Linked DNA regions of Homo sapiens: regions 2 and 3 are each linked to region 1. Evidence: promoter capture Hi-C in human tissues and cell types (Jung and others, 2019). All regions are on one chromosome and are shown on one strand. The core of a region is centred on a gene start or on the middle of the fragment in contact, and the rest is flanking DNA. Distances in the headings are between cores, read along the strand shown. Region 1 holds the start of ZNF362 (zinc finger protein 362). Region 2 has its middle 30 kb from the start of TRIM62. Region 3 overlaps ZNF362 (zinc finger protein 362).

Region 1 (2,704 bases), core at 73-2,572:
CAGTGTTTGCCATCCTGTGCTGGACTAGAATCTTCGTGAGGGCAGGGGCATTATCCAGTTTTTTAATAGCTGTGCTCCAGCCAACCAGCTATTAAAAACAGTGGTTGATGTTTACTAGGTCCTCTATGAATATTTACTGAATTTGGAAATGCTTCCTGGAGGACAAACGCTGGCAGATGATTGTTTATCTCTGTGCCCTTCCCGGGGGACTGTGCGCTCCCTGAGGGCAGGGCCAGCCCTGATCCATCCTGGCCCAGCGGTCGGGGGGTGGTGGATGCCATAGAAATCTAAGCCGGTGAAGGGATCCTGGAACCGGCTGCCTCCTCAGGTAGAAGTGTAAGTTTGGAAGCTGACACAGCTCGGGAGGCCGAATCAGGAGGACTTGGTGACTGATTGGCTGGGGAGGGTGAGGCGGGAGGAGGAGTCACACAGATGGCTCTGAGGTCTGGAGCCGGGGGACAGCCGGTGCCACCTCTGATAGACTCTGCGAGAGGAGCCACTGCCAGCTTCGGGCCGCCCCATCCGTCGGGGATCCGGCCTAGGGCTAGGGAGGGGTGGCTGGGCCTGTGCAAACTTCTACTCCCCACCCCTATGTCCTCGTCTTAAAAAAAAAATCGGCCTGGATTTTGAGCAGGTCGTTATCAGGGGTGAGGGTCCATCCTGGGGGTCCCCTCCAGGCGGCCGTCTTCGAGGGAGACCCCCAGGGGCAGCCTGGCACCGCGCGGGCTCGGCCTGGTCAGGGCCGTGGCCCGCCAGGCCCAAGTCCCCAGCCTGCCATCACCCAGGAGTGGGGTGGCGAGGCGGCCGCCGGGCCTGGGCAGGACAATGGCCACGGCCGCCGGGGCCCCGGGAGCCCCCGCGCTGGGGAAGGGGCTGTCCTAGGGCCGGGCGCCGGTGCCCTCCCCGCGCGGCTCAGGCGGGCGGAGGGGGGCGAGGAGTTCCTTTGTGGCTCTGCCTCCGGCGCGGCGCGGGCGGGGGGCGCAGCGCAACTTTGCCAGGCGGTGGCGGCGGCGGCGGCGGCGGCGACGGCGAGCGCGAGACGAGGCCCCGGGGCCCGAGTGGGGGCCCCAGCGCGCGGCCCGCCCCCGCCCCCCGCCCGGCCCCCTCCCCTCTCGCGCAGTCGCCAGCGCCCGGCGCTGCCCACTCGCGGGAGCCCCCGGGGCCGGACGGGCTGCGCAGCCGGAGAGGCGGGGGCCCGACGCGGCCCCCCCGGAGCCGGGCGCCTGGCGCGGGGGCTCGCCGAGCGCACTGGGGGCCGCGCGGCGCTGCAGACCCAGCCTCCCGCCGCCGCCGCCGCCGCCGCCTCGGCGCTTGCAGAACCCAGAAGTGAACAGCAGGCGACCCGGAAGGTTTGCGCGCGGCTCCGCAGCGAGCCAGAGCCGGAGCCCGAGCCCGGAGCCTGTGCCGGAGCCCCAGCCCGGCCCTGCTCGGGCCGCCGGGCGCGGGGCTGCGGCCGCGTCCCGGAGGCGCCGCCAGCACAGCCAGGTCCGTGCGGGCCCGGGGCGCGCGGGGAGCGGGCCCAGCGGCGGCGGGCGCCTGCCCGCGGGAAAGTTGCGCCGAGTTGCGGGCGGGGGCCGGGCCGGGGCGCGGGCGCTGTCAGCGCGGGCCGGGGCGCTCCGAGGGCCCGGGGCCGCCTGCGCCTCGGGCCCGGCCCAGAGCGGCGGCGGCGGCGGCGGCAGCGGGGCGCGCGGGGTAGGAAGTGTCTCCCGCGGCGTGTCTGGGGCTGGTCTCCGAGTGTGTGTGCGTGTGTGTGTGTGCGCGCGCGTGTGTGTGTGTTTTCTTAAGCCGGGCTATTCAAACCCTGCTGCAATTCTCCGGTAAACAATGATTCATGGGGCATAATGCAAATAAACGGATTGCAAACGGCGCGGTTCGCGCACTTTGCAGCCGGCCCGGTGGAGCAGCCAGTGCCGGATTTCTCCCTTTTTTTGCAGATCTGCAGAATATGGCGTCCCTGTCCTGTTTTAAAAATAAGCCAGGCTGCCATTTTTGTTTTTCTTTTGTCTGAAAATTTTAATAAAACTGTCTGAGAATGTGGGAGAGGCGGCTGGAAGCAGAGGGGGCACCCGAAGGGTTGGCTTTTTTCCTTTTCTTTGGCGAGAGCCGCGAGCCTTTCGGGGAGGTGAGACACAATGCAATTGCACTTTAAAGAAAAAAAAAAAGGGAAGCTGCCGGGCGATTTGAGGGGGGAGGGCTGGGAATTTAAAGTTAACTCCGAAAGTTTGCTTTGCTTTGCTTCTCTTTCTTTCTTTCTTTCTTTTTTTTTTTTTTTGGAAGGCGGTGAAATGCCGCGAAAGGATCTCGAGGCCCATTTCTCCCCCAGCCAGCTGCCTTTGCAGGATTTTTGGGAAAAGTTAACTGCCGGTTTCCTCAGAGCTGCGCGGGATGGGGGTGGGGGGGCGGATGTGGAGGGTTGAGGATGGGAGTTTTGGGGGAACTGGGAAACATTTATTTGGAAGGGGCTCTATAAACATGGCATTGTAAGGAGCTAGATCCTCAGATCTGGGGGAGAGGGCCGGCAAGAGGGGCTCAGAATGGGTCCAGGATTTCCAGCAAAGACCCCTGGCATGAGGAAATAATCCTGCTGTCCCACCACCCTGCCCTCGAGCAGTGTGGAACCTTCGGGAGCTGTGTGTGTGGCAGTGGGCCTGTCTCCTTCATGGGTGGCCAGGACCCCCCGTGTAGGCTGGAATCTCGCCCAAGC
Region 2 (2,704 bases), core at 82-2,581, 44 kb before region 1:
TTCCACTTGCTTGGTAGACCTTCCTCCATCCCTTTATTTTGAGCCTATGTGTGTCTTTGCATGTGAGATGTGTCTCCTGAATACAGCACACCGATGGGTCTTAACCCGTTATCCAATTTGCCAGTCTGTGTCTTTTAATTGGGACATTTAGCTCATTTACATTTAAGGTTAATTTTTTTTTTTTTTTGAGACAGAGACTCACTCTGTCACCCAGGCTGGAGTGCAGTGGCACAATCCTGGCTCACTGCAAGCTCTGCCTCCTAGGTTCACACCATTCTCCTGCCTCAGCCTCCCGAGTAGCTGGGACTACAGGTGCCCACCACCACGCCTGGCTAATTTTTTGTATTTTTAGTAGAGATGGGGTTTCACCATGTTAGCCAGGTTGGTCTCAATCTCCTGACCTTGTGATCTGCCCTCGCTAGCCTCCCAAAGTGTTGGGATTACAGATGTGAGCCACCGCGCCAGGCCTACATTTAAGGTTAATATTGTTATGTGTGAATTTGATCCTGCCATTATGATGCTAGCTGGTTATTTCACTGTTTAATTGATGCAGTTTCTTCATAGCGTTGATGGTCTCTACAATTTGGCATGTTTTTGCAGTGGCTGGTACCGTTTGTTCATGTCCATGTTTAGTGCTTCCTTCAGGAGCTCTTGTAAGGCAGGCCTGGTGGTGACAAAATCTCTCAGCATTTGGTTGACTGTAAGGGATTTTATTTCTCCTTCATTTATGAAGCTTATTTTGGCTGGATATGAAATTCTGGGTTGAAAATTCTTTTCTTTAAGAATGTTGAATATTGACCCCCACTCTCTTCTGGTTTGCAGGGTTTCTGCAGAGAGATCTGCTAGTCTGATGGGCTTCCCTTTGTGGGTAACCCGCCCTTTCTCTCTGGCTGCCCTTAGCATTTTTTCCTTCATTTCAACCTTGGTGAATCTGACATTTATGTGTCTCGGGGTTGCTCTTCTCAAGGAGTAATCTTTGTGGTGTTCTCTGCATTTCTTGAATTTGAATGTTGGCCTGCCTTGCTAGGTTGGGGATGTTCTCCTGGATAGTATCCTGAAGAATGTTTTCTAACTTGGTTCCATTCTCCCCATCACTTTCAGGTACACCAATCCAAAGGAGATTTGGTCTTGATAATTCTTATATTGCTGGTGGGAATATCAAATGTACATCTGAGATGGTTTTCATCTGTGTCCCCACCCAAATCTCACATTCAATTGTAATCCCTGGTGTTGGAGGTGGGATCTGGTGGGAAGTGATTGGATCACAGGGACTGTTTCTCATGGTTAACATCATCTCCCTTGGAGCTGTCATTACGATAGTGAATTCTCATGAGATCTGGTTGTTAAAAAGTGTGTAGCACCGCCGCCTTCTCTCTGTTCCTCCTGCTTCAACCATGTAAGACATGCCTGCTTCCCCTTCACCTTCCACTATGAGTCAAAGCTCCCTGAGGCCTCCCCAGAAGCAGATGCAGCCAAGCTTCCTATACAGCTTGCAGTACTGTGAGCCACTTAAACCTCTTTTCTTTATAAATTATCCAGTCCCAGGTATTTCTTCATAGCAGTGTGAGAATGACTAGTATGATAGCCATTTTGGAAAACAGTTTGGCAGTTTCTCAATAATTTACCTAGGTATCTCTAACGTATATTGAGCCATTCCACTTCTAGGTACCTATATTAGGCTATTGGTGTGTTGCTGTAAAGAAGTACCCAAGACTGGATAGTTTATAAAGAAAAGTGGTTTAATTGAGTCACAGTACTGCAGGCTGTACAGGAAGCATGGCGCTAGGCATCTGCTTGGCTTCTGGTGAGGCCTCAGGAAACTTACAATCATGGCAGAAGACAAAGGGGAAGCTGGCCTATCACATGGCAAGAGCAGGAGTAAGACAGAGAGGTGGTGGGGTGCAGTGGGGAGGTGCCACACACTTTTAAACAACCAGATCTTGTGTGAACTCATTCATCACCAAGGGAATGGCACTAAGCCATTCATGAGGGATACTCCCCCATGATCCAAACATCTCTGACCTTCAGGCCTCACCTCCAACACTGGGAATTACATTTTAACATGAGATTTGGAGAAGACAGCCGAACTATATGAGAAATGAAAGCGTACGTGCATGCAAAGATTTGTACACAAATGTTTATTGCTGCCTTATTTATAATAGTCACAATTTATTTAGAAGTAACCCTAATGTCCCAAATCCATGGATGAATGAATAAACTAAATGTGGCACATCCATACAATGGAAATGCTCCTTGGCAATAAAAAGGATAAATTTTATATGTGCAATAGCATGGCTGAATCTCAAAATAATTGTGCTGAGTGAAAGAAGATGGACAAAAAGAGTATGTATGTATTATACTATTCATATAAATTTTTAGAATTTTGTTTTGTTTTGTTTTAGATGGAGTCTCACTCTGTTGCCCAGGCTGGAGTGCAGTGGTGCGATCTTGGCTCCTGACCTCAGGTGACCCACCCACCTCAGCCTCCTAAAGTGCTGAGATTACAGGCATGAGCCACTACGCCCAGCCTGAAGTTCATTTTCTTAATCACGGCGATGATTTCACAGATGCATACATATATACATAACAACCTCTCAAAATTGTTCACTTTAAGTATGGGCAGTTTATTGTTTGTCAATTGTATTTCAATAAATCAGTTAGAAAAAATCCCAGAAGAAGGGTGGGAAGCAGTAAAGTGAACAAA
Region 3 (2,704 bases), core at 145-2,644, 44 kb after region 1:
GCTTCACTGTTTTTTTTTTTTTCGTTTTTTTTTTTTAAGTTTGTTTTGGAAATAACAGAAAAGATATTTATTGGCCAGGAAGTTGGTGCTGCTAAGACCGAGAAATTTAAAGAATCGGACAGATGGACGCAGAGAACCAGAGGGCAATGTGGGACCTTCTCTTGCCATGGCCTCAGGTCTTGAGGGAAGGCTCGGGCCTAGGTTTCTGGACTGCAAAGGGGACCCCCAGGTGGGAGGGGCAGGAAGCAGCCGGAGTGAGCCCTTCGCCCCTGAGTGCCTGGCTCGCACCTCTCGAGCTGTGCCCTGGGCATCACTGAGCAGAGGGGTGCGGCAGCTTCAGGAGGCAGAAACGAGAGGGGTGGGAGATCCACAGGACCAAAGGGTGCAGTGATGGGCTGGGTGGCGGGCCCAGGGAAATGGGGTGGGGATGGGCTGGGTAAGACCTGGCCCTCCCCTGCTGCCCTGAAGACCACCCCAGTCTACCTCGGTGCTGGCCAGGAAACCTTTCGGCTACCTCTCCCACCATCCCAGACTGTGGGCAGGGGGATGGGGAGGGAGTGGGCCTGGATCTGGGACCTCCCTCCAGAATTTCCTCCAGATGGGGGCAGTGCCCAGGGAGGGGTTATTTGTCTTCCCTGCCATGGAGTGGGAATCCCCAGCCGAGGCCCTAGGCCCCTCAGCAGGGAAGGGATCCCCGGGGAGGCAGGTCCCAGGAGCAGACCCTGCCCCCAGCCCCCACAGACACACCCCAATCTGAAAGCCATGCGTGTCGGTGTATATAGGAACCATGTACAGAGCCCAGAGAAGCCCCCTACATCCCCCCGGGAAAAAAAAGAAAACTAGACAGAAACTCATCTATATATTCTGTATCTGGAGTTCCGTTTTGAATATTAACTGTGTTATTTTTATACACTTTTTAAGCCTTAACTCGCCATTGATTTACCAGTTTAACGTTTCCTGGGGTTTCTTTGCCCATGGGGTTCTCTGCCCCCACCCCCGGCCCTTTGTTTGACTTGCGTCGTCTGATACTCAGTATTGTAGCTTTTTGTCCGCATGTTACTCCCTGTAAATACGCTGTTATACATACTGTTAACACCCCTTTGCTTTTTCTATGGGACCTCCAGGCCACCATATTTAGAACTAGTTACCTTATTAAAAAAGAAAAAACAGTCTGTTGGCTTCTCAGTCTGCATCTTGGAGGCAGGGAGGTGAGGGCAGGTGCCCCTCAGACACTTCAGGAAGGTAGTTTGCATTCTATTTAAAAAAGGGAGTGGGGAGCAAATGAAAATCAAATGTGGGGGGAAAACACTAAAGGGGGCAAGAAACAAAGGAATTACAAACCCTCTGCTCTTTGTATTTCTCTGTTGTGAAGAATAAACTGTACCTGCACCCGGGTGGCGGTGGTGTTTGGCGTGCTCTGTGCGAGGGCAGGGCTGGGGGGCACCTTTCCATTGCTCCTCTCCCCTCCCCCGCCCCCCAGACTTGGAGAAGGAAGAAAGTGGCCTCTCACTGTGGGCTGGCCTCACTCCAGGTGCTGAACTGAGTGCTTTATGTTGATTGCCTCACAACTCCCTAAGAAGTGGGCAGCAAACCAAGAGAGGCCCTTTGCTAAGGATCATGCTGCAGTATAGTGGCAGTGACATAAACTGACCCAGCATTGCCTAGTTCTGGAGCCTTCTTGGATATACTAGGTCCACCAATAAGTCTCACTTCCACTGCTCCCTGAGGGGGCACCCCACCTATGTGGGGGGGGGGTCCATCATGAGTGCCTGATTTGTGGAAGTGATTCTAGTGATTGGAGGGGGAGTCCAAGACATCCTTGTCATACATTGTTTTTTCCCCATAGGAGTCAATGTTTTGACTGCCTAGGAAGGAAATTTAGTAATAAAATCCCCAAAAGCTTATCATGTCTGGCCCTGTGGAAGCACTGTGAGGGGGACAGTGCTTCCACTGTCCATGGAAGGTCATCATGGAGGTCATCTACCATGGAGGTCATCATTGGTTCGAACTCGTTTCCCTGAGTCCTCACAGTCCTCATGTGTCAAGACTTTGCTGCAAGTGATAGAAAGTCCAATCCAAACAAGGGTGTATTGGCTTATGTAACAGGACAGTGGTCAGGCCAGCTTCAGGGCTCAAAGGATGTGTCTCCAGCTCTCCACTCTGTTCTGAGTCAGCTTCAGCCTGAGGCGCCTGTGGGGTCAGCAGCTCTAGTCTCTCAGTCCCCAGGGTTCCAGCAATCAAGCCTCTTGTCTCTCTGACAAAAGCCTCAGTGTCTTCATCTGTTTTATGCTGCTATAACAGGATATCACAAACTCAGTAATTTATAATGAGCAGAAATTTCATTCTGTTCATGATAAATTCCAGTCTCATAGTTCTGGAGGTTGGGAAGTCCAAGAGCATGGTGCCAGCATCTGGTGAGGGCCTTCATGCCATGTCATCTCATGCCAGAAGGCAGAAGAGCAAGAGAGGGTGAGGCCAGGCTTGGTGGCTCATGCTTGTAATCTCAGCACTTTGGGAGGCCAAGGCAGGAGGATCACTTGAGTCCAGGAGTTTGAGACCAGCCTGGGCAACATAGGGAGACCTTGTCTCCACAAAAAAAAAGAAAAAGAAAATTGGCCAGGTGTGGTGGTGCATGCGCCTGTAGTCCCAGCTACTTGAGAGGCTGAGGTGAGAGGACTGCTTGAGCCTGGGAGGTCAGGGCTGT

Evidence for each region. Contacts are between HindIII fragments. The study calls those that stand out against the background at their distance.
Region 2: a fragment that was not itself captured here is called in contact with the fragment with the promoter of ZNF362 in region 1 in 3 of the 25 tissues and cell types used here (adrenal gland, spleen and stomach).
Region 3: a fragment that was not itself captured here is called in contact with the fragment with the promoter of ZNF362 in region 1 in 2 of the 25 tissues and cell types used here (heart left ventricle and neural progenitor cells).

Annotation. Positions count from the first base shown.
Region 1 is chr1:33,255,170-33,257,873 of GRCh38, forward strand. ZNF362 (zinc finger protein 362) reads left to right here and starts at 1,323. Exons shown (of 9, transcript NM_152493.3): 1 at 1,323-1,485. RefSeq lists silencers at 712-811, 1,254-1,313 and an enhancer at 1,779-2,073. The HindIII fragment of the contact is 13,308 bases long and covers 1-2,704 here.
Region 2 is chr1:33,210,765-33,213,468 of GRCh38, forward strand. It overlaps a transcript of ZNF362 not described here. Among named protein-coding and RNA genes, the nearest start is that of TRIM62, 30 kb to the left of the region's middle. RefSeq lists an enhancer at 373-542 and a silencer at 1,317-1,376. The HindIII fragment of the contact is 3,403 bases long and covers 1-2,704 here.
Region 3 is chr1:33,299,326-33,302,029 of GRCh38, forward strand. It overlaps ZNF362 (zinc finger protein 362), which reads left to right. Exons shown (of 9, transcript NM_152493.3): 9 at 1-1,394. Among named protein-coding and RNA genes, the nearest start is that of A3GALT2, 20 kb to the right of the region's middle. RefSeq lists an enhancer at 58-1,007. The HindIII fragment of the contact is 5,609 bases long and covers 1-2,704 here.